2 separate regions of the Homo sapiens genome follow, and region 2 is linked to region 1. The links are contacts of gene promoters, found by promoter capture Hi-C in human tissues and cell types (Jung and others, 2019). All regions are on one chromosome and are shown on one strand. Each heading gives the region's core, a stretch centred on a gene start or on the middle of the fragment in contact. The rest is flanking DNA. Distances are from core to core; before and after follow the strand shown.

Region 1 (3,598 bases), core at 263-2,762:
ATATTTTGGCCCTTCACATTTACACAACTCACTCTAACCAAAGGCACAAACTATTCTTAAGACCACAACTGGCTATGCCAAGTTTCTCCCCTCCCTGACCTCACAGACACATGCTGTACAGAACACTACCATTGCCGCTCTTTCCCAACAAGTAACTAGGGGCTCCCAATCCCTAAAATACACACACATATCAACCTGCAAGGAACCTCCCAACATTTATTCAAGAAATAAGCTAACTTATAAGGGGAACTCCATTACACTTACACAAATAAAGGCAAACTCTTACGGAAACACTTGCCATCCTCACATACACACACCAACACAGCCGCTACACACCAACAGACCATCTGTCTGCTAGACCAAAAACATCTCTTTCCATGTACAAACTAACCAGTGACATTTATTAAACTTACAACACTGAGATCATCCTGTCGTTCCCACATACCGTTCAACGCGGCAGGGACACCACAGACCTTGTCACACAGGTAAAATCCCCTCTCAAGATCGTGTCCTCGACCACTCTTATCCCTTAATTAAACACACACAAACTGGACTATGGGGGAGGCTCCGATCATGCCTACAAACACAAACTAACCTGTCAGGGGCACAGCCGACTCCGCCTCCACTCGCTTACTTCCCAGCCCCCTCCGGGAGTCTGCCTGTCAGGGACACCCCTTCACCCCGCCTGGAGGGACTTCCCGGTAGGCTCAGGATCCCCCTCCCTGCTCTCCCCTCCCCCATCTTCACCACTGCTCTCTCAGAGATCCAGGTCCGGGAGATGACAGTGGCTCCCAGAAAGCCCAGGATTCAATCGCTGAGAGAGTGCTTAGGCCCGAATGCCGGCCCAAATCGTTCTACTCACCGTGTCGGAGGCCGAGGCCGAGGCCGAGAGCGATGAGAGTGCAGGGAAGTGGGGAAGAGGGGGTGGCCGCCAGGCTCCTCCGCTTCCCTGGGTCCACGGCGGATCCCTCCCGCTTGTCAGGAGGCGGCCAGCGGGTAAGCTGACTGGCGGAAATGCGAGAGAGGAGAAGGGAAAGGTGGAAGGCTAAAGGGGGCAAACTGAGGGGAGGCGGGTCCCGCAACCGAGACTGGGATCGTCTCCCCTCCGCAAAGCGAACCCAAAATGGCGGCGGGAGCGGCGGCGGCGGCGGCGGCAGCAGCAGAGTGGCGGCGGTGGCGGCGGCAGCTCCTCCAGAGGGAGGGAGCGAAGGGCGCCTAGCGCCCCCCTCAACCTTCCACTCCTTCCTCCTTGCGTTCTTTCCCACCGTCCCCCGCTCCGCCCGACTCCGTCCGCGTAGCGCGCACGCCCGCCCGCACGCGTACGAGTGTCTACGGGCTCGTCGCTGGCTGCTCCCACCAACCACCACCTTCGGCCGCCCCGCGCGCCAGCCAGCCCGTACGCGCTCACCCACAGGAACCCCCTCGTCCAGTCCCTCACTACCCCTCAGGCCCTGTCAAGCCGGCGCCGGCGCAGGCCCTCACGCGTACCTTCAACGGCGCAAGCCCAAGCCTCCTCCTCCTCCTCCTCCACCTCCTCTTCTCTCCTCCCCCCCCTTCCCCGCCCCCACGGCCACCAACCGCCGCCACGGCCGCCGCCGCCGCCGCCAGCCCCCCCTACCACCCTCCACCCCTCGCGCGTGCGCCTCCCACAATCCCCCCCGCGGGACTGTTCCATTCCTGTCGGCTGCAGGGGCAGGAGAGGAAGGGACGGGCCGAGCGGGTCGGGGCTTGCCGTTTGACTGGAATTGCCAGAATGGCGGACCGAGCCCCACGACAACCTACCTCCCTGGGCTCCTCGCCGCAGCGCTGCGGCTCGCCTCCCTCTGCTCCTCCTCCTCCGCCGGATCGCGGCGAGCGGATCGAGGACTGCCTAGCGCCCCTCTGCCCACCGGTGGTTGGAGGCCGCGGCGGCTGCGCGTTGAGTCGTTTCCTGCCGGTTGACCTGAGCCTACTTCGCAGTAGCAGGACCGCTGCTGTGGAGCTGGTCGCAGGCGGTGTGTGCCGGTCGCCTAGTCAGGAGAACTAGTCCTCGACTCACGGTGAGGGAATGGACCGACACGGGTATTGTACCGCTGAGGGAAAGGAGCGGGACTCCGGACCTCCAGGAGGTAGGGAGTGAGGCCAGTAGGACCGGCGCGCCTCCGGGGGGATTCCTCCCGGGCGTTGAGTTGCCAACCTGGGACCCGAGGAAGATCGGCGTGGTGGTGTGCTTTTTGTTGTTGTTAACCCTCCTCGGATTTCTCGAATTTCACACCACTGTCCATATGCGATGATGTTTGTTTGCCCTTGACGCACTTACTCATGGATGGTACTTCTTCAGCCTCGTTAGACAGCCTGGTGATGGAGGATGAAGAAACCATGTGCTTTTCATTCAGTTCTGGACTTAGTCTCCCTTTTCTTCCTTCAGCAAGTTATTTTTGTTAGTTCCTTATCAAAAAGTGTACATAAAAATTAGGCAACTCCAAACATGCCTCCAGGGTTAATGTGTGAAATAATAAGATAATATATGTAAAGTGGAATTAGCTCCTAGGCATAGGGAAAGTGCAGAATATTGCCGTGTTGTCATTTACAGTTCTGTTGATGTCGATAACGTTTGTGGGTGTAATTGGTAGTGTTCTGTCCCTCCAAGGAGTTAATAAAACAAAGCAAACATAGGCCTGTTAGGTTTCTGTGGCTACTGAATATTTGTTTCTCAAAACACTTGACTGATATTTGATAATTGAATGCAGCAGAAATACGGACGATTAAAGTCCACAAATAATTCCAAAGTTTACTTGATCTAGTAGTTTTTACCTTTACCTAAAGGGTAAAGCAGAATAAATTACCGGAAGGATCTACTTGGGTTTCCCTTTCCTTCACATTTGTGGACTCCTGGGGATCCAGGAAGTAATTCAGAAATGACTGTTCAAAAGCCCATGCAAGGCCGGGCGCGGTGGCTAACGCTTGTAATCCCAGCGCTTTGGGAGGCCAAGGTGGGCGGATGACCTGAGGTCAGGAGTTCGAGACCAGCCTGGCCAACATGGCAAAATCCCGTCTCTACTAAAAATACAAAAATTAGCCAGGCGTGGTGGTGGACGCCTGTAATCCCAGCTACTCAGGAGACTGAGGCAGGAGAATCGCTTGAACCTGGGAGGCGGAGATTGCAGTGAGCCGAGATGGTGCCATTGCACTCCAGCCTGGGCAACAAGAGCGAAACTCCATCTGAGGGAAAAAAATAAAAATAAAAAGCCCTTGCAACCTCCAAAATTCAAGTAGACAGTCCCAAATTTCCCCTTTAGGATACGTGGATTAAGTGTTGTTTACTTGTTTCGTTTCTTTAAGGTAAAGAGGAAAGCAGCCTTAATTACCTCATTGTATATTTTCCTAACCAAGTCCCACACTTTCATGGAGCCCACTTGTTTACCGATCTTTTGTTAGTTGCTTCATGCGTGCAAGTGTATTATGCTACCAATAACTTGTTTTATCTGAGAACAGGGACTATGTCTACTACTTAATTTACATAAAGCATCACAGGCTAGCGCAAAGCAAGTCACAGAAATATTGAAATGAGGCTGGGTGTGGTAGCTCACGCCTGTAATCCCAGCACTTTGGGAGGCCA
Region 2 (3,764 bases), core at 627-3,126, 210 kb after region 1:
TTCCCAGCTCTTTCTGGGAAAACAGGACACAAGAAAGATTTAAGACAATTCCAGACAATTAATACCAGTAGCCTTCAGAATCTAAATGAGAAGCTGACCTTCCTACTACAGGATAAAAACAGGTAAAAATCATCATAAAGTCTTTCACAATAAACTACTCTGTTAAGATTATGCCTGAGTTCCCAGATATTCAGGGATTGTATTCTTGTTTTACTTTTAGACTTAGTGAGAAACACTAAGGAATATATGGTCTAGCTCCTGAACTAGAAGTAAGATTATGAAGAATGAGGACTCATTTTTTTTTTTTTTTTCGAGACGGAGTTTCGCTCTGTCGCCCAGGCTGGAGCGTAGTGGTGCGATCTTGACTCACTGAAGTCTCCACTTCCTGGGCTCAAGCGATTCTTCTCCATCTACCTCCCGAGTAGCTGGGATTAATTACAGGCGCCCGCTACCACGCCCGGCTATTTTTTGTATTTTAAGTAGAGACTGGATTTCACCATGTTGGTCAAGCTGTTCTCGAACTCCTGACCTCAAGTGATCCAGCCACCTCAGCCTACCAAAGTGCTGAGATTACAGGCACAAGTCACCGCACCCAGCCAAGAATTAGGACTATTACTTTTATTTTATTTATTTATTTATTTTGAGACTGGGTCTCACTCTGCTGCCCAGGCTTGAGTGCAGTGGCGCGATCTCAGCTCACTGTAACCCTCACCTCCTAGGCTCAAGCTATCCTTCCACCTCTGCCTCCCAAGTAGCTGAGACTACAGGTACGCACCACCACATCTGGTTAATTTTTGTATTTTGTAGAGACGGGCTTTCGGCATGTTGCCCCAGCTAGTCTGGAACTACTGGGGTCATATAATCTGCCTGCTTTGGCTTCTCAAAGTGCTGGGATTACAGGCATAGCCACCGTGCCCAGTCTCAACATCTATAAAACGAACAGTGGTACCAAAAACCTAAGAAGTTAGGTTGGATCTAAAGATGAGGAGGATTCAATAAAAATATCAGAAAGACAGTATTAAGAAAATTGAATACACTCCTTGTCCTTTCATGGGAATCAGTGGCTTACGTTCTCTCAGCAAACACAGGAAGCCTTAACAGAAAGCAGGCAAAACAATCAAAAATACCCGAGAGAAGAATAAATATAGATTATGATCAGTGAATAACTGAGAAATAACCTGCCAAGCTAATTTCATACTCTAGTCTTTAGAGTTATGGATATTTGGAAACTTACAAGAAATATCCTGGTGGTAGTGGCCTCCGGATTGAGGTTGGGGTTGCAGGTGGCAAGAAGGTGGATTTGGGTCAAGAGCTGAACGTGCTGGGGATGGAAAGAAAATGATGAAGTGACATGTTACCACATTGTCATTTCAGGAATCCAGAGAGATCTTTTTTTTTTTTCTTCTTGGAGAAAGGATCTCTCTCTGTCACTCAGGCTGATGTGCAGTGATGCAATCATGGCTCCACGCCCTCTCAACTTCCTGTGCTCAAGCAATCCTCCCACCTCAGCCTCCTGAGTAGCTGGGACCACAGATGCATGGCACCATGCCTGGCTAATTTATTTTTATTTTTTGCAGAGACAGGGTCTCACTATGTTGCTCAGGTTGCTCTCGAACTCCCTGGCTCAAGCAATCCTCCCACCTCAGCCTCCCAAAGTGCTGGGATTACAGGTGTGAGCCACCGTAACCCAGCCCCCAGAGAGACAATAACCAAGATGTTTGCAACTTTATCACATATATTTTGCTTTCTGAAAGGAGTATGAAAATAACATAGGATCTTGGCATAAATCTCTCAGACATGTTCCCTTGAACAAAATGACAGAACCAGAGGAAGCTTAACCTCAATCCAGAGGGACTGAGGTTAGAAAAAGGAAAAACAAACCTACTTCTCACAGTGAAGGTTGTTAAATTTCAGAATAGATTACTAAGGACTCTTTGAAATCTATATTTCTGAATACCATTAGTGTCCTTGTGTGCTCTCTTCCTTGAGCCATAAGGCATGAACATGATGACTTCTCGAGCTCCTAATGATGTGAAGATACTATGGTTTTAGGAGGTGGTAAGGTAACTATCTCTGACTTTTACAAAGCTGTTAATTTCTGGCCTCAGAGTTAGGCCTTGGTATAATCCAGTATTAACAGCAGGGCGCAGTGGCTCACGCCTGTAATCCCAGCACTTTAGGAGGCCGAGGCGGGCGGATCACAAGGTCAGGAGTTCGAGACCAGCCTGGCCAATATGGTGAAACCCTGTCTCTACTAAAAATACAAAAATTAGCTGGGTGTGGTGGTGGATGCCTGTAATCCCAGCTACTTGGGAGGCTGAGGCAGGAGAAATGCTTGAGCCCAGAAAGCAGAGGTTGAAGTGAGCCGATATCGGGCCACTGCACTCCAGGCTGGGAGACAGAGCCAGACTCTGTCTCAAAAAAAAAAATCCAATGTTAACATGACCAAGAAAAGTCCTACCTGCTGCATCTGCTGCTGGAGTCTCTTCCTCTGTGCTGGGTCCAGAATCAGAGTCTGATGAACTTTCTCACTCTGGGGTTTAACCTTCTCTACTTCCTGCAGCTGTTTGGCTGAAGATTTCTTCATCTTCAGCTGTTCAAATAGCTCCTTCACTGTCCGATGTTGTTCATTTAACAGGTTGGCCAGTGGTTCCTCAAACCTATTCCCAACAGGGAGATGACTGAATTTGAGTGTTTCCGTAGGTCCACAACACATCCAATTCGTTCCAATGATGAGCAAAGAGCCTGAACAATTTTCATTCCCTACTAATCCCCCATCTCACTTTAGCCAACAGTCAAACTCTCAGCCTTTTACAAATCTTTTGCCAAAGTAGTTAGCATGCATCAAATATGATGATTCTATATTACACTCTATCCCATTCCTCTAAAATTCCTCTTCTAAATAATATACAAATAAAGAAAAAATTAAAATGCTAGGAACAGAGAAATATCTGGATAAGAAAGCAGCCAAGGAGCTGGTGGGAACTCATCATTCTCATTTCTTCTCTCATTTACTTGTTACTCCCATCCCAGGTTCAGCTTGTCCCATTTCCCTATCCACTCAGGCTGCACTGCCTTGCATTTTTTTTTCAAAATTTAAATATTTTTTGAGACACAGTCTCGCTCTGTCGCCCAGGCTGGAGTGCAGTGGCACGATCTCAGCTCACTGCAACCTCCGCCTCCAGGGTTCAAGCAATTCTCCTGCCTCACCCTCCCAAGTAGCTGGGACTATAGGCACGTGCCACCACGCCCAGCTAATTTTTTGTATTTTTAGTAGAGATGGGATTTCACTGTGTTAGCCAGGACGGTCTCCATCTCCTGACCTCATGATCCACCCATCTCGGCTTCCCAAAGTGCTGGGATTACAGGCGTAAGCCACCATGCCTAGCCCTCAAAATTTTAATTTTAAGTTTCAGAATACATGTGCAGGACATGGAGGTTTGTTACACAGGTAAACGTGCACCTTGGTGGTTTGCTGCACCTATCAACCCATCACCTTGGTATTAAGTGCAGCTGCATTAGCAGTTTATCCTGATCCTCTCCCTTCCCCCGCTCCCCCAACAGGCCCCAGTGTGTGTTGTTCCCCACCCTGTGCCCATGTGTTCTCATTGTTCAGCTCCTACTTATAAGTGAGAACATGCAGTGTTGTTTTTCTGTTCTTACGTTAGCTTGCTGATGGCTTCACCTCCATCCATGTCCCTGAAACGGACATGATATCATACCTTTTTATGGCTGTATAGTATTCCCTGGTGGGATACTACATT

Evidence for each region. The method cuts DNA at HindIII sites, captures the fragments that hold promoters and counts their contacts. A contact is called where the count stands out against the background at its distance.
Region 2: a fragment that was not itself captured here is called in contact with the fragment with the promoter of ASH1L in region 1 in 2 of the 25 tissues and cell types used here (liver and lymphoblastoid cells).

What each region holds. Positions count from the first base shown.
Region 1 is chr1:155,561,291-155,564,888 of GRCh38, forward strand. ASH1L (ASH1 like histone lysine methyltransferase) reads right to left here and starts at 1,513. Exons shown (of 28, transcript NM_018489.3): 1 at 863-1,513. It overlaps ASH1L-AS1 (ASH1L antisense RNA 1), which reads left to right and starts at 752. Exons shown (of 2, transcript NR_147964.1): 1 at 752-996; 2 at 1,960-2,654. It also overlaps a transcript of MSTO1 not described here. RefSeq lists silencers at 1,304-1,453, 1,504-1,643, 2,728-3,022 and an enhancer at 1,532-2,099. The HindIII fragment of the contact is 36,648 bases long and covers 1-3,598 here.
Region 2 is chr1:155,775,161-155,778,924 of GRCh38, forward strand. GON4L (gon-4 like) reads right to left here. Exons shown (of 32, transcript NM_001282860.2): 15 at 2,462-2,660; 16 at 1,235-1,321; 17 at 1-13. Among named protein-coding and RNA genes, the nearest start is that of GON4L, 80 kb to the right of the region's middle. The HindIII fragment of the contact is 9,147 bases long and covers 1-3,764 here.